4 separate regions of the Homo sapiens genome follow, and regions 1, 2 and 4 are each linked to region 3. Evidence: promoter capture Hi-C in 16 types of primary human blood cells and fetal thymus (Javierre and others, 2016). All regions are on one chromosome and are shown on one strand. Each heading gives the region's core, a stretch centred on a gene start or on the middle of the fragment in contact. The rest is flanking DNA. Distances are from core to core; before and after follow the strand shown. Region 1 holds the start of SPATA4 (spermatogenesis associated 4). Region 2 holds the start of SAP30 (Sin3A associated protein 30). Region 3 holds the start of DDX60 (DExD/H-box helicase 60). Region 4 holds the start of NAF1 (nuclear assembly factor 1 ribonucleoprotein).

Evidence for each region. The method cuts DNA at HindIII sites, captures the fragments that hold promoters and counts their contacts. A CHiCAGO score of 5 or more calls a contact.
Region 1: the fragment with the promoter of SPATA4 here is called in contact with the fragment with the promoter of DDX60 in region 3 in 2 of 17 cell types (total CD4 T cells and M1 macrophages); the score reaches 6.9 in total CD4 T cells.
Region 2: a contact is called between a fragment that was not itself captured here and the fragment with the promoter of DDX60 in region 3, in 1 of 17 cell types (activated CD4 T cells). The highest score is 5.6, in activated CD4 T cells.
Region 4: the fragment with the promoter of NAF1 here is called in contact with the fragment with the promoter of DDX60 in region 3 in 7 of 17 cell types (activated CD4 T cells, naive CD8 T cells, total CD4 T cells and 4 more); the score reaches 16.3 in activated CD4 T cells.

What each region holds. Positions count from the first base shown.
Region 1 is chr4:176,194,002-176,197,707 of GRCh38, forward strand. SPATA4 (spermatogenesis associated 4) reads right to left here and starts at 1,584. Exons shown (of 6, transcript NM_144644.4): 1 at 1,344-1,584. The coding sequence starts at 1,561. The HindIII fragment of the contact is 1,203 bases long and covers 1,074-2,276 here.
Region 2 is chr4:173,369,997-173,373,220 of GRCh38, forward strand. SAP30 (Sin3A associated protein 30) reads left to right here and starts at 958. Exons shown (of 4, transcript NM_003864.4): 1 at 958-1,501. The coding sequence starts at 1,187. It overlaps SAP30-DT (SAP30 divergent transcript), which reads right to left and starts at 702. Exons shown (of 4, transcript NR_183973.1): 1 at 296-702. RefSeq lists enhancers at 179-418, 1,502-2,065, 1,769-2,068 and silencers at 819-988, 1,269-1,648. The HindIII fragment of the contact is 6,906 bases long and covers 1-3,224 here.
Region 3 is chr4:168,316,677-168,320,165 of GRCh38, forward strand. It overlaps DDX60 (DExD/H-box helicase 60), which reads right to left and starts at 2,076. Exons shown (of 38, transcript NM_017631.6): 1 at 1,946-2,076. RefSeq lists an enhancer at 2,010-2,339. The HindIII fragment of the contact is 2,588 bases long and covers 1,565-3,489 here.
Region 4 is chr4:163,165,403-163,168,701 of GRCh38, forward strand. NAF1 (nuclear assembly factor 1 ribonucleoprotein) reads right to left here and starts at 1,488. Exons shown (of 8, transcript NM_138386.3): 1 at 961-1,488. The coding sequence starts at 1,325. RefSeq lists enhancers at 633-1,500, 992-1,071, 1,102-1,221, 1,242-1,441. The HindIII fragment of the contact is 3,845 bases long and covers 1-2,635 here.

The sequences.
Region 1 (3,706 bases), core at 334-2,833, 7.9 Mb after region 3:
TAACTTTTAAATTGTACTCTGTTCTGGGCAGTCTGATGAAACCTCCCTGCCTGCTCTGTGTTGCCTAGGATGTGAGTCCTCCCTTTGTCCAGAGTCTCCACGTTGTAGACATCAGTCACCTTTTAGTCATCAGATCAACTGTACAGTGTGGTGCGCTTGTGTGCAAAGTGCAAGAGCAGTGATGCTGGTGATTCAGATATGCCAGAGAGAAACCATAAAATTATTCCTTTAGGTGAAAAGATGAAAGTTCTTGACTTAATAGAAAGTTGTAAGAATGGTTACAATGGTAGGAATGAATCATATTCCTGAAATATGAAGAAAAAGAAATTCTTGATAGTTTCGGCATCACACCTCAAACTGAAAAACTTTCAGCCACAGTGTGTGATAAGTGCTTAGTTAAGATTTTTAAAAAGGCATTAAATTTGTGGATGGAAGACATAAACAGAAATGTGTTCTGACAGAGGGTTCTGTAGTATCCACAGTTGCCATCCACTGGGGATCTTGGAACCTATGCCTCTCTGATAAGGAGAGACTACTTTAAACCAGAGTTCTGCAAAAGATTCATTGCCTTTTTATAGAATTTAGTTTGCATTCCCAGAGCAAATATTAGCTGCCAGTTACATACAAAGTGCCTACAATTAAGCAGCAACTTTAAAAACTTGTTGGTAACTCTCAAACTAGATGCCATCTCCGACAAAGGGTAAACTGATCCTTACCAGTATTTTTTTTTTTTTTTTTTTTTTTTTTTTTTGAGACAGAGTCTTACCCTGCCACCTAGGCTGGAGTGCAGCGGCATAATCTCGACTCACAGCAACCTCCGCCTCCCGGGTTCAAGCATTCTCCTGCCTGCAGCCTCCCCAGTAGCTGGGATTACAGGCACCCGCCACCACACTGGGCTAATTTTTTGTATTTTTTAGTAGAGACGGGGTTTCACCGTGTTGGTCAGGCTGTTACTCAACTCCTGACCTCAGGTGATCCGCCTGCCTCGGCTCCCAAAATGCTGGGATTACAGGCATGAGCAACTGTGCCCGGCCGTCCTTACCAGTATTAATGCCCAATATCACTAAAGAAAAAGCTTTGACTATTTTAATATTTTTGTAGTCACCAAAGCATTCTATATTGTCCACAATTTAATGATTGGTTGATTAATTGAATAAACAAGATGTATCGTGGTATTTTGTTAAAGCCTTGTTCCCTAATAGTGTTTTCGTGTGTGTACGTGGGTGGGGGGGTCTTGATTTGAAACATAAGCCAGGCCAGGGTAGGCAATCTGAGGCCTGGCAGGCGGCGGAAAGCAGGCGGGGCGCCCACCGGGGGGGCCTAGGACTGGCTTACTCAAGCACCTGTTGATGTTCCTGGGGAAGAAGCTGAGATCCAGACCCTGAAGCCAACGCAGAACGGAACGAGACAAGCGGGAGCTCTTCGGCGCATGCGGATAGACCAGACACTTCTTAGGCCTCCCTCGGATGGGAGCTGCTAGCTGTGGCGAAAGTGACGGTGACTTGTCTAGGGCTGCCGCAGTCTGTGTCAAATACCCTTTTTCCTGGCCGGCGGCAGCCATGACGCTTTCTGGGTTGCTGCGGCAACAGCAGAAGGCGGGGCTGGGCCTTATTGCTGGCGGCGCGGTCTCGTGGGGCGGGGCGGAGTCTTATGGGGCGAGACCTCAGCGCCTGCGCAAGCGCCGCAGCAGCCGCCCGTACTTCCGCTTTACTCAGATTTTGGACCGCGGGGCCGGGTATCGAGGGAGGCAAAGCTGGGGTCCCAGTGGTGTGGCTGCGGTCTGGGGAGCGCTTTCAGTCTCAGATTTAGTTGGCCTCACTGTTAACCTATTTAGAGCTTTTTTTTTCTTATGTCATCGTTCATAAGTTTTGTATTTTAAATATTGTTGGTTTCTGCCCAGCCAAAGGCCTATTTTCAGTCGTCTAGTTTGAGGAGTGGTGTGAGAAGACTCCAGAGGCCAAGGACAGTTTTTGTTTGGGAATTGGAAGAGATGGGGGAAAAAAATCTTTGAAATGGAAATGAATGTCCACAAAATTTAACATAACTATTTCCTTAATTATTGCATTAAGTATTTGTAAACATTAATATTTGAAAACGATGTGTAGGTTAGATTTTCACACTTAATTAAAATCTCCTAGTAGGCATAATTCCTTCATTAATTCAACAAATATGTATTGAGTCCATATTATGTGCCACGCATTCATCTAGTCACTTGGGATCTATCTGAACACAATGAAAACAACTGCAAAGTTGGCATAGGCAATTATAAATATGTAAGCTTAATTATTAAAATCCATTAAAAATTTTTACAGCCACAGTTTTTTGTTTTTTGTTTTTTGTTTTTTGTTTTTTTTTGCTTGGCAGGGCACAGTGGGTCATGCCTGTAATCCCAGCACTTTGGGTGGTGGAGGCGGGAGGATCGTTTGAGCTCAGGAGTTCAAGACCAGCCTGGGCAACACAAGGTGGAGAGACTTTCGCTACAAAACAAACAAACAAACAAAATAGCTGGGTGTGGTGGTGCACACCTGTACTCTCAAGTACTCCAGATGCTGAGGTGGGAGGATTGCTTGAGCTCAGGAACTTGAGGCTGCAGAGAGCCAGGTGACAGGCCCTGTGGATACATACACATGGTAAAATATGGGATAGATCTTGATAATGATACTATGTAATATTTTTAATGTTTATTCATATACATGCTTATTAATAAAGTAAACCAGTGTATTCTGTATGTGGTTAAAAAAGAAAACCAAAACTGAAGCTATGTAAGTGTTTTCTGTTAGGCTAAAAAAGTTTTAATGAATGATTCATTCATTCTGTAAACCTTTTCTGAGGAACTATCCTGGAGTATGTGCTAGATCTTTACCATCCAATATGGTAGCCACTAGCCACATGTGGCTATTTAAACTTAAATTTAAATAAACTCAGTTCCACTGGCTACATTTTACCTGCTCAATAGCCATATGTAGCTAGTGGCTGCCATGTTGGGTAGGACAGACACAGCACTGTTCCATCACTACAGGAATTTCGATTGGACAGCTCTGTGCGGCAGATCATTTATAAGAGATTCAGAGATAGAAATATCAGTGAAAAGATTACATACACTGAAAAGCTCTGCCATGGTAAAAATATGTTAGCACCAGAAAGGAAGCAAATACTTTGGCCTGGGAGAGTGTAAGAAGTCCTCTCAAAAGAGATGACCATTAATTTGGATCTTAGAAGGTGGTATTTTAAGCTGATTTTTAAGATGAAAGCTTTGAATAGCCATTTCTACTGTGAAAGGAAATTAAATCTTGGGACCCCCCCCACCTCCCCCAAATCACTAAGCTAAAGGGAAAAGTCAAAGTGGGAACTGCTTAGGGCAAACCTGCCTCCTATTCTATTCAAAGTCACCGCTTAGCTCACTGAGCTAAATGCATACCTGATTGCCTACTCTGGAAAGGCTCATCAGAAACTCAACAGAATGCAACCATTTGTCTCCCATCTACCTATGACCTGGAAGCCCCCTCCCTGCTTGAGTTGTCCTGCCTTTGCTTCTAGTTGTCCCACCTTTTCCAGACCAAATCAATGTTCATCTTCCACATGTCGACTGAAGTCTCATGTCTCCCTAAAATGTATAAAACCAAACTGCCCTGACCACCTTGGGCACATGTCAGGACCTCCTAAGGCTGTGTCACGGGTGCTCATCCTCAACCTTGGCAAAATAAAC
Region 2 (3,224 bases), core at 1-2,500, 5.1 Mb after region 3:
CCCGGTAGAGCTAATGCAGGGAAGTTTCTGGGAACATTCGACCAGCGTTTGTATTGGTGAGGTTCCAAGTTTCCTTTAAAATGATATGACTCCGCCCTTCTCCAAAACCGTTTGAGGAGAAATGGAAAAGGTTGGGCGTGGAGGTGAAAAGGAGCCCTGTTGTCAACTGGTCCGTACTCCACCTCAGGAGGCGGCCAACTTGGTGCGCCCAAGAATAAAAACATTTCCCTTGTAAGAACATGCAAGTGTTTAGAAACGCCCCCCCACCCCCCCGCAAGGCGTTTGTGAGGGGGACCTGTCACAGTTGAGAAGTCAGGATGGGCGTTTTCCTCCCAGGAGGTGCCCTATTAATTTGCGGCCTCGATAGTTGGTCAAGCCGGGATGTTAGCTGCGGAACCTCCAGGACCGAAGAGCGCCAATTCTCCTGAGTTCTCCTTGGTTTGGGTTTCCCACAAAAGAGTGGTCACACCAAAAACTCTGTCTCCACAAATGCGAAACGGGCTCGAAACTTTTTTTTCCCCACACGATCACTTCCCACACCACTCCCATCCCTTTATGTTTCGCCTCAGGAGTCGAGGAACTTCTCTGAAAACCAATTCTACGATATTCCAGCAGCTAAACACAGCCCGAATTCCCTAGAAACAGAGAGAGCGAGAGAAAACACTGTAAACCCCAATCACACGCTCCTGTTTTCCCGGTACTGAAAAAAAAAAAAAAAAAAAAAAGTGGGTCCGTGGCCGCGCTATGCATGCTAGGATTAGTAGTTCCTCCGTCCCTCATGGCGCGGGGTCAGGGCGGAGCTCAGGTTGACTCTGCAGCAGAGAACTACAATTCCCATGGGGCCGCGCGGCAGAAAGAAAGGGGCGGGACGGGAGGGGGCGCGTCGCGCTTGCGCAGGTCCCGGGGCCGGAGGGAGGCGGAGGCGTAGCGGTCCAACTGCTGAAGTCCCCATGTGACAGTGAGCGGGGTCCCCGCTCCAGGAGACGCTCGAGTCTGCGTCCCGGCCCTCAGCACTGTCCACTGTTTCGGTGCCAGCAGAGACCAGCAGGCCCGGGACAGTTGGTGTTTGGCCGTGCCGCTGTCTAACTTGGTGTGCAGAGTGAATTGCCGCTGCCGGAGCGGAGAGAGGCGGAGCGGCCAGGAGAGAGGGGATTTCTGTCAGCGCCGGCCTCGGGAGCTCGGAGACATGAACGGCTTCACGCCTGACGAGATGAGCCGCGGCGGGGATGCGGCCGCCGCAGTGGCCGCAGTGGTCGCTGCCGCGGCCGCCGCCGCCTCGGCGGGGAACGGGACCGGCGCGGGCACCGGGGCTGAGGTGCCGGGCGCGGGGGCGGTCTCAGCGGCTGGGCCCCCGGGGGCGGCCGGGCCGGGCCCCGGGCAACTGTGCTGCCTGCGGGAGGATGGTGAGCGGTGCGGCCGGGCGGCAGGCAACGCCAGCTTCAGCAAGAGGATCCAGAAGAGCATCTCCCAGAAGAAGGTGAAGATCGAGCTGGATAAGAGCGTAAGTAAACCGCGGGACCGCCCTGCCCTCCCGCCCCTCGGTGGGGCCCCAGGAGCCGGGCAAAGGCACGGGTTGTCGGCGGGGTCCCCCAGACAACCGCACTGGCTGCAGTGCGGTCTCGTGGAGTCTGTGTTTGGAAGCAAATAACAAAGTCGCTGCAACTCCTACCGCCACCCCAACACACACACCACACACAGGCTGTCGTTCCCCTCTTCTTTCCCACCCTGGCCCCCAACCTCCCGCTGCCTGCGTCTCTCCCGCGCAGTCTTCCCTCTTCCTTCTCCTCTGCGACCGGGACACGAAACAAAGGGGACCGGCGCACTGAGGGCCCAGAGTAGTTTTCTTGCAGCCCGGCAGCTCTTCTGGAATGGAGGCGCCTTTGTTTTGCTGCCCAAGCTGGTGTTTGGCCCCAGGCGGTACTAAATCCCGTCGTCTAGGAGAAAGCGGAGGACCTTCACGAACAAGGAAGATCCTGTTCTTTTCTGTGTTCCGTCTCCTCCGGAGCGGAGTGAGAGGGAAGCCGAGCTCACCCGCCGCCTGGCAGTGAGCCGGGGTTGTAAACGGCGTTTGCGCTGTCAGCTCCGAGGGCAGCTACTCCGATGGTGGGGAGCACGTAGCCTCTGCGGTTTTGCCATCCCCTTGGCAGCCATCAGGATTTTTTGCACGTCTTTTCGTTTGACCATCTATGAGGTTTTTAGAAACAGCCGTTGCTACTTTTGGGAGATCTGGCTAGCGGTAAATGAATAACATGGTATCGAGAACCTACCACAAGTCCTGCATATTTTTATCTTGCGCTTGGCTTAGAAGTAAATGTAAAAGCCTGTTAGCTCAGTCCGTGTTTGTTTCAAATGCTAGTCTACAGCTCGCAGGAGTATATGTAATTAAAGTTTTTGAAAAGTTTATTTGTGACACTTTTTGCCCGTTTAAACAGTTTTCAGTGTTATCCATGAGAAACTCTTCAGGTGAACTTGCATAATTTCAGATTGTTTTGGAAAAATGTGTTATAGATAAATACATTGATTTAATATTCAGAAAAATGTATAACTGAAATTTAAATATAGTTTTGAAGTCGATGGCTCATTTGTGAAAACGAATGGTTTTGTATCTGGACTATAATTTGGGTATTCAGTTAGAAAGACTGGAAAGCATACATTATATTACTAAAATATGCTGTTCTTTTAAGTAGAGAAAGTACTGTCAAGTAGCAAAACTGTGAGCAACATCATCTTTCCCCTCATCAGTTAAAAATTCAACATGAACTAATTCAGGTCATCCTTACTGCTATCTGTTTGTTTATTTATTTAAGACAAAGTCTCACTCTGTTGCCCAGGCTGGAGTGCAGTGGCGCGATCTCGGCTCACTGCAACCTCCAACCACCAGGTTCAAGTGATTCTCCTGCCATAGCCTCCTGAGTAGCTGGGATTACAGGCTACTGCCACCATGCCCGCCTAATTTTTTGTATTTTTAGTAGAGACGGGATTTCACTATGTTGGCCAGGCTTGTGTGGAACTCCTGAGCTCAAGTGATCCACCCGCCTTGGCCTCCCAAAGTGCTGGGATTACAGGCGTGAACCACCGCGCCCAGCCCCTCACTGCAATTTGATGACAAAACCCAGAGGGTTGGAATTTCTCATTCTCCTCTCCCTCCCTCCCTTACCCCCTTCCCCAGATGGAACCAACCCCTCCTTCCCCATCCACCATCCTTTTAACAGTATTCCAGACAT
Region 3 (3,489 bases), core at 826-3,325:
TCACCATTTTACAACTCCTAATGAATTAACAGATCTTGGTATTTTTAAACGATAGCACAACAAAAATAGAGGCAAGTGTCCACACCATCAGTGAAGTATTGTAGTTCTCCCAGCCAAAAAAAAAAGAAACCCAAAACTTGGGAGGCCAAGGCGGGCAGATCACCTGAGGTCGGGAGTTCGAGACCAGACTGGCCAACATGGTGAAACCCCATCTCTACTAAAAATGCAAACATTAGCTGGGCATGGTGACAGTCACCTGTAATCCCAGCTACTTGGGAGGCTGAGGTAGAAGAATCGCTTGAACCTGGGAGGCAGAGGTTGCAGTGAACTGAGATCAAGCCACTGCATTCCAGCCTGGGCAAAAGAGCAAGACTCCGTCTCAAAAAAAAAAAAAAAAAAAGAAGAAGAAGAAAAAAAAGAAAACCTGAATCTGATCAAAACGCTAGTAGTAATGATTAATTTACAAGAAATTTAGAGGCCAGCAAAATATGTTAAATGACACCACAGGGATTAGGACACATACACACACACACACATAAACACACACCCAACAGGACACACACATACAAAAACAAACAATCATAAGACCACAAATCTTACAAACGAATAAATTAAAAGGGGATGAAAGAAATTGCAAGAACCTTATAAGGCTTATCCTCCAATCACAGTAGTGTCAGAACCATATTCTGATTCAAACAATCTTAAAAAGGAAGAAGAAAAGAAGAAGGGAGGAAGAGAAATGGAAAAGAGAAAAAAGGAGGGAAGAGGAAAGGCGCAAAGGGGAGGTAAAGAGGAAAAAAATGGGGGCAAGGGAAGGGAAAGGAAATCATGGATTCTGTATTGGAACAGAATGGTGGAGCTACTTGATGAAAGGCATCAAGCTCCTGAAACCCTGCCTGGAGAAGAGCTGGTGGGTTAAAATGGCTTCCAGTACCCGGTATAACCCTCTCCCCTTGAGTGTGGACAGGACCTGTGAATTTAATGGCATAGTCTCTTTAATGATTCGGTTATATTATGTAAGACTTCATCATAGTAGACTCGGGAGATTCCCCCAAAGAGGCTTATACCTTCTTTAAAGGTACCCTATACCTTCTTTAACGGTATAAGCCACCTTGTTGTGAGAAGGCCACTGTAGCTAAGATCTCAGGGTGAAATCTAAAGACATGGGAACCCCCAGCCAACAGCCAGCAAGAAAGCAGGTAACCTCAGTCCTTTAGCTGCAAGAAACTGAATTCTTCCAACAACCTGAATGAGCATCCATGGTGTCCCATGAGGCCACAGCTCTGACACCTTGATTTCAGCTCGATGAGATGCTGAACAGAGAACTCACTTTACCCATGCCTGGGCTTCTGATCCACAGCAATTGTAAAATAATAAACTTGTAATGTTTTAAGCCACTATACCTGCCCCTTGACCAGGAATAAATTAAGTTACTGGAGTAGGAAATAAATTTCTATTGTCTTAAGCCACTGAAATTTAAGGGTGCACAGAAATTACCTGGGGGAATCTTATTAATAAACGCAGATTCTGATTCTACAAGTCTGGAGCAGGGATTGAAGGTGGAAGCTTCTTGCTGCTGTCAATGTACAGGTTTTACTGGCTGTGCTTAGATATGATGTCCCTTAATTTCTCCTCAACCTCCATTACCCAGCTCCCACCTTTGACGGGGACTCCTTAAATGCCTAACTAAGCACTCCTCTCTGTCTCAGACTTCAGGCCTTTCGCGGTTGTCCCTTTCCTCCGCCCCTCCCCACGCCCGGCCTTCCGGGCCAGCAGGGGGCCCGTGCGCCACGGCCTTGCGATCCCAGGAGGTTCCCCAGATTCCCGCGCCCCGAGCCCAGCACTCCTGGGCCACCTCCCTGTCCGGTCCGTTGAAGAAGACCTAGAACTCCCGCTAGACAGCTCCGCCCCAGGCTCTTCCCAAGGGACATCCCCGGCTCCTCACCGCGGACTCAGGACCGGTGGTGTCCAAAGACCCGCGAGCTGCGCGCCCCGCGGGGAGGGAGTGAAACAGAGACCTAGCGCAGAGCCCAGGTGGAAGTTCCAGGTTACCCCAGACCTGGCCTAGGACTCGGCGCTCTGAGCCACCGCAGCCAGTCTTTTATGCATCCGGCGGGAGTTTCGGTTTCCTTTCTCCTCTCAGAAGCACTTAGGTTTCAGTTTCCCTTCAGCACGAATTAGGCGAGGCACTTTCGTGGAAAGTTTAGCATCCTTCCCTTCAATCAGAATCTTAAGAAGGGGAGCATGGCGAGACGTTAGTTAAAAGGTATGAAGTTACAATAGCTAGGAAGAACCAGTTCTGGTATTCTATTCTGCAGTAGGGTGTGTATAGTTAACAATAATGCATATTTCAAAATAGCTAGAAGAGAGAATTTTGAATATTCTCATCACAAAGAAATAGTAAAGTTTTGAGGTAATAGATGGGCTAATTATCCTGATTTGATCATCACACAATGTATACATGTATTGAAACGTCACATTGTACCCCAAAAATATATACAATTATTATGCGTCAATTAAAAATAAAATGAAACTAAAAAAAACCTTAAAAGAGAGAGACAAAGGCAATAAAAATGGGCTTTGGAATTTGGGCATAAATATAGAGTAAATTGAGGCAGAAAAATTTGTAACATCTAAACAAGATAAAATCAAGAAGAGTTAGAATTTAGAAATTGATAAAATGTAAAAGACACTGTGGAATCTGAAACCCCACAATGAAATTGGAGATCTTGCTGCTTCTACTTGTATGCAAAAAGAAAAAAGAAAGTATGTAACAATACATGAACTTTGAGTTTCTGTTATGAGAAGCTGATGATTACTGTTCTGTATAAACTGTAATTGGTACTTTCATGGGCCAAGAATCAACATTAAAAAATAAATTGAAAATGCAGAATGGTCACATTTATTTGTGCCTCAAATTGATGAAATGTTCTCTTAATTTTTGCCTGTTGATACTTGCAGTGTGGGTTTCGATACTCATCTCCTTTCCTTTCAGTGCCCTCGTATGCTTGATTTCATTAATGCTATAAATATGCATTCATATATTGGAAATAGAAGAGGGTGTGGAGGAAAGACAGCAGTGAATTTGGGTAATCAGCATGATAAGAAGCCACAGGCTGCTTTGTCTACAAGGAAAGGAAAGAGCCAAGGTCCAGGCACTGCTCCACAGGGAACACAGAACAGAGAGAGTAGTGAATGATACTTTGTCTTGTGAAAAATTAGAGAGTCAAGTTGTTAAAAGAGGGGGATATGGGGAAGGAGGACATTTCTCACATCCATCAGACAATTACTTGTTTATTCATTTGTTTAGAAATTCACGTGTTTGTTAGTGATGAGATTAAGAAAGAAAATAAAAGACTCTAGAATTTAACACATGATTGGTCTTAAATCAGCCAATATTCCTGTCTCCTTCACTGTGATCTCTGATGTACCTGCCTGGGGTAGGCTGAATAATACCCTGCACTCCTCCCTCCAAAAGAGGCCAAAATC
Region 4 (3,299 bases), core at 238-2,737, 5.2 Mb before region 3:
CCAAATCATCTACCATTTACTTTTCTTTGCTAGTAAAATGAGCTCTGAAATCCCACAAGATGATTATACTGCAATCTTAGTACTGCCAAGAAATCCAACCTTGTTTACAGTTGTTACTTCCCCCTCCCAGTACATTTCATACCCTCTCCTTCTACTCAAATCCTTCAGCCTTCTTCACTTCCACTCTCCGCTGATGACTTCCCTGAAAACTAAACTTCTCACCTCCTCAACACGTGTCTATCTTGTTAACCTGTTCAGTACCCCACTCAACACACTCAACTATTTGTAGACAATGTTCAGTGTGGTTTAGTAACATCCCACATGCTGGAGTCCTCTCCAGCCCAGAGATTTCATATTTAAAAGACAGGTGTGGGGGCAAGGGGGAAAGGCTCTCACAAAACGTAAGAAGCATAAGATACTACTAAATAACACTGTTTGGCTACTTTCATAAACACGTGTTCCCTGCAAGGATTCTATAAATTAACGTAATCATCAAGAGCCAGCTTTGAAACACAAAAAATAATACTTTTCCTGATCCCCAATGTATGTGGTTCAAAAAACAAAGCCTAGATGTGATGATAAAAAAAAATCAGATCTGACACAAAACTCAACTATAACCACAAAAGTACAGCCTAAACTGAGTAGTTACGGAAATAACCTAAGATCCTCGGGTTTTCTAAAGTCTAACAAAAAATGATACGATCTATACATAGAACCCTTCAGGCCACCAAATTTAGGAAATAAGTCAGTACTAAGCTCAGATTCACAACGCGACCTGCTTTGAGAGGCAGCGAATAAGGGGCAGTCGGAGCCAATACTTCAACACGTGAGCCCGGAGCACCAACGACCTGCCCACCCTCCAGGGCCCACACAAGCAACCTCTAGGCTCCTAGGCCCCAGCCACCCCCGCCCGTCATACAAGACCTCTCCCCACAGCTCCGGGTCCCTTAGGCACCCGACCTGTCCGAGTCCGAATCCGAGTCCGAGGTCTCCAAGGAGTCCGGCGCCCGCGCAGGCTCTGCGGCTCCTGGGGAGGTGACGCAGTCTCCGCAGGCCGGCGATTCAGCCGGTGGCTGTGGCTGCGGCGCCGGGGTCCCGGCCGCGACGGCGTTCAGAACGGGCTGCAGAGGCTGCTCCCCGGCAGGCTTAACCTCCACGGTCTGCCCAGCGTCCGGGGACCCCTCAAACGACTGTAGCGGCGGCTGTGTCCCTGGCACAGGGGCAGAGCCCGGAGACGGAGCCGCCGGACCTTCCCCAACTCCAAAGTCGGTGCCATTGAATTTCAGAGTTTCCAGCTGAGCGGCGGCGGCCTCCACTACCTCCATCGCACCGCGCCAGAAACCGGGTCGGCCTCAGGATTGGGGCCCCTGGACAAGCTCACGGCTCTCTCCAGAAATAGAAAAACAACTTAGGCAACCGCAGCAACACTGCCTGGGCCCAACTTCCCGCGTTTCTCAGGTAACTACACGCGGAGGAGCCAAAAGACACGCCCCCGCCATTTACGCAGCAACGCTTTCCGAAGAGCGTGTGACGTATGTGGCGCGACGGCGCGACGGCGCTCGCGGGGGCAGGATACATGCGTCATATCTTCGAAAATCAGGATTAGGGGGTCGGGCGCCGTGGCTCACGCTCGTAATCCCAGCACTTTGGGAGACCGAGGTGGGCGGATCACAAGGTCAGGAGTTCACAGACCAGCCTGCCCAACATGGTGAAACCCCATCTCTACTAAAAATACAAAAATTAGCTGGGCATGGTGGCGCGTGCCTGTAATTCCCACTACTTGGGAGGCTGAGGCAGGAGAATCGCTTGAACCCAGCAGGCGGAAGTTGGAGTGAGCCGAGACCGCGCCACTGCACTCCAGCCTGGCGAGAAAGCGAGACTCCGTCTCAAAAAAAAATAATCAGGACTAGGGAGGCCCTAAATCGACCGTTTTCACTGCGTCATGTGAACCATTCAAGGCCTGAATGTCGGATTTTCCTATTGCTGCATGTGAACCAATTCTGCTTGAAGCGCCAAAATGAAGCAGGGATTATACAACAGGGGGGTGCCTGAAGAATGCTAAGTTCTGTACATCAGAAACTTGAGCCAGGAAGTCTTGACAAGACGCTAGTAACTTCATGAAAGTTAAATGAAGTTTATCCATCAATAGATCCATCTGTCGATAGATAGGGTATTAACCATTTTTTCAAAAATGTAACTACAACTATTCCATTTTCCTTTCTCCAAAGTACCCTCAAAGAGAGCAGTAATGGACAAAATTTTGCTGTGTTGTTCATGTTATGGTGATGTCTATATCATACTTAGCACTGTTTCGTAGTAGAGAGATGAGACTATGAGACTGAAATGTACTCACTTATTGTTGGAAACCACTAGTCTAAATTGTGGAGAAAGCAAGCAGAGTTCTTAGGACTGAGGAAGAGATCAGAATTTTCTGGTTTCCTATTAGGTCTTCAGTTTGAGGCATCAGTCCCTGTGTAGTAATAATAATCATTGATACCATTTGTTAAACATGCATATGTGCCAAGGACTGTGCTAAAGATTTTATAAATTATTCACTGAGAATTTAGTGTGTCATCTACAACAGTAGATCTTCATAGAAATGCAAGGCAAGTGTAATAAGAGTAAGGTTTTAAGAAGCTTACAATCTACTTGAAGTAGAGAAGGGCAATGCACAGGAGATAACTAGAAAAATATTTGAAATATGAAATAGAAAATCCAAGTGCAGCAGAAATGGGAAGTAGGATTGGTAGGCTATTTCATGGAAATCCTCCAAAGTGAAGAAGGACTTTAAACTTGGGATACGAACTTACTAGCACAATGATTAAGCAGAGCTCAGAGTTTTCAACTAAAAAGACCTGTGTTCAGGCCTCAGCTCTACCATTTTGTGTTTGGTGTTACTGACTTTGGGCAGTTAATCTAAATCCTAATTTCCTTATCTGTAAAATGGAGATAAAAATACTATCTCATTTAGTTCATGTGAGCACTAAGTAAGGCTTTATATAAGGGAGTGGCATGTCATACATTCAGTGTGCAAAAATACTTGGAAAATGGAACAATGCATGAACTCACGAATAAAATATTTAATTAACAATGATCTTGCAAAGACATGCAGTACAGATTTGAGAAGGGAAGACGTTTGAGCCAGAATTATTCCCCAGCCAGCCACTTTGTTGCATTTTTCCAGGAATTAGGTGATAAAAGTCTGAACTAGGCTTACAGTCAATGAAATAGAGTAAAGGACATCCCCAGCATCAGGGGAAGAATAAAAGTACTCTAAAATTTCTGGTCAAGGAAATTAG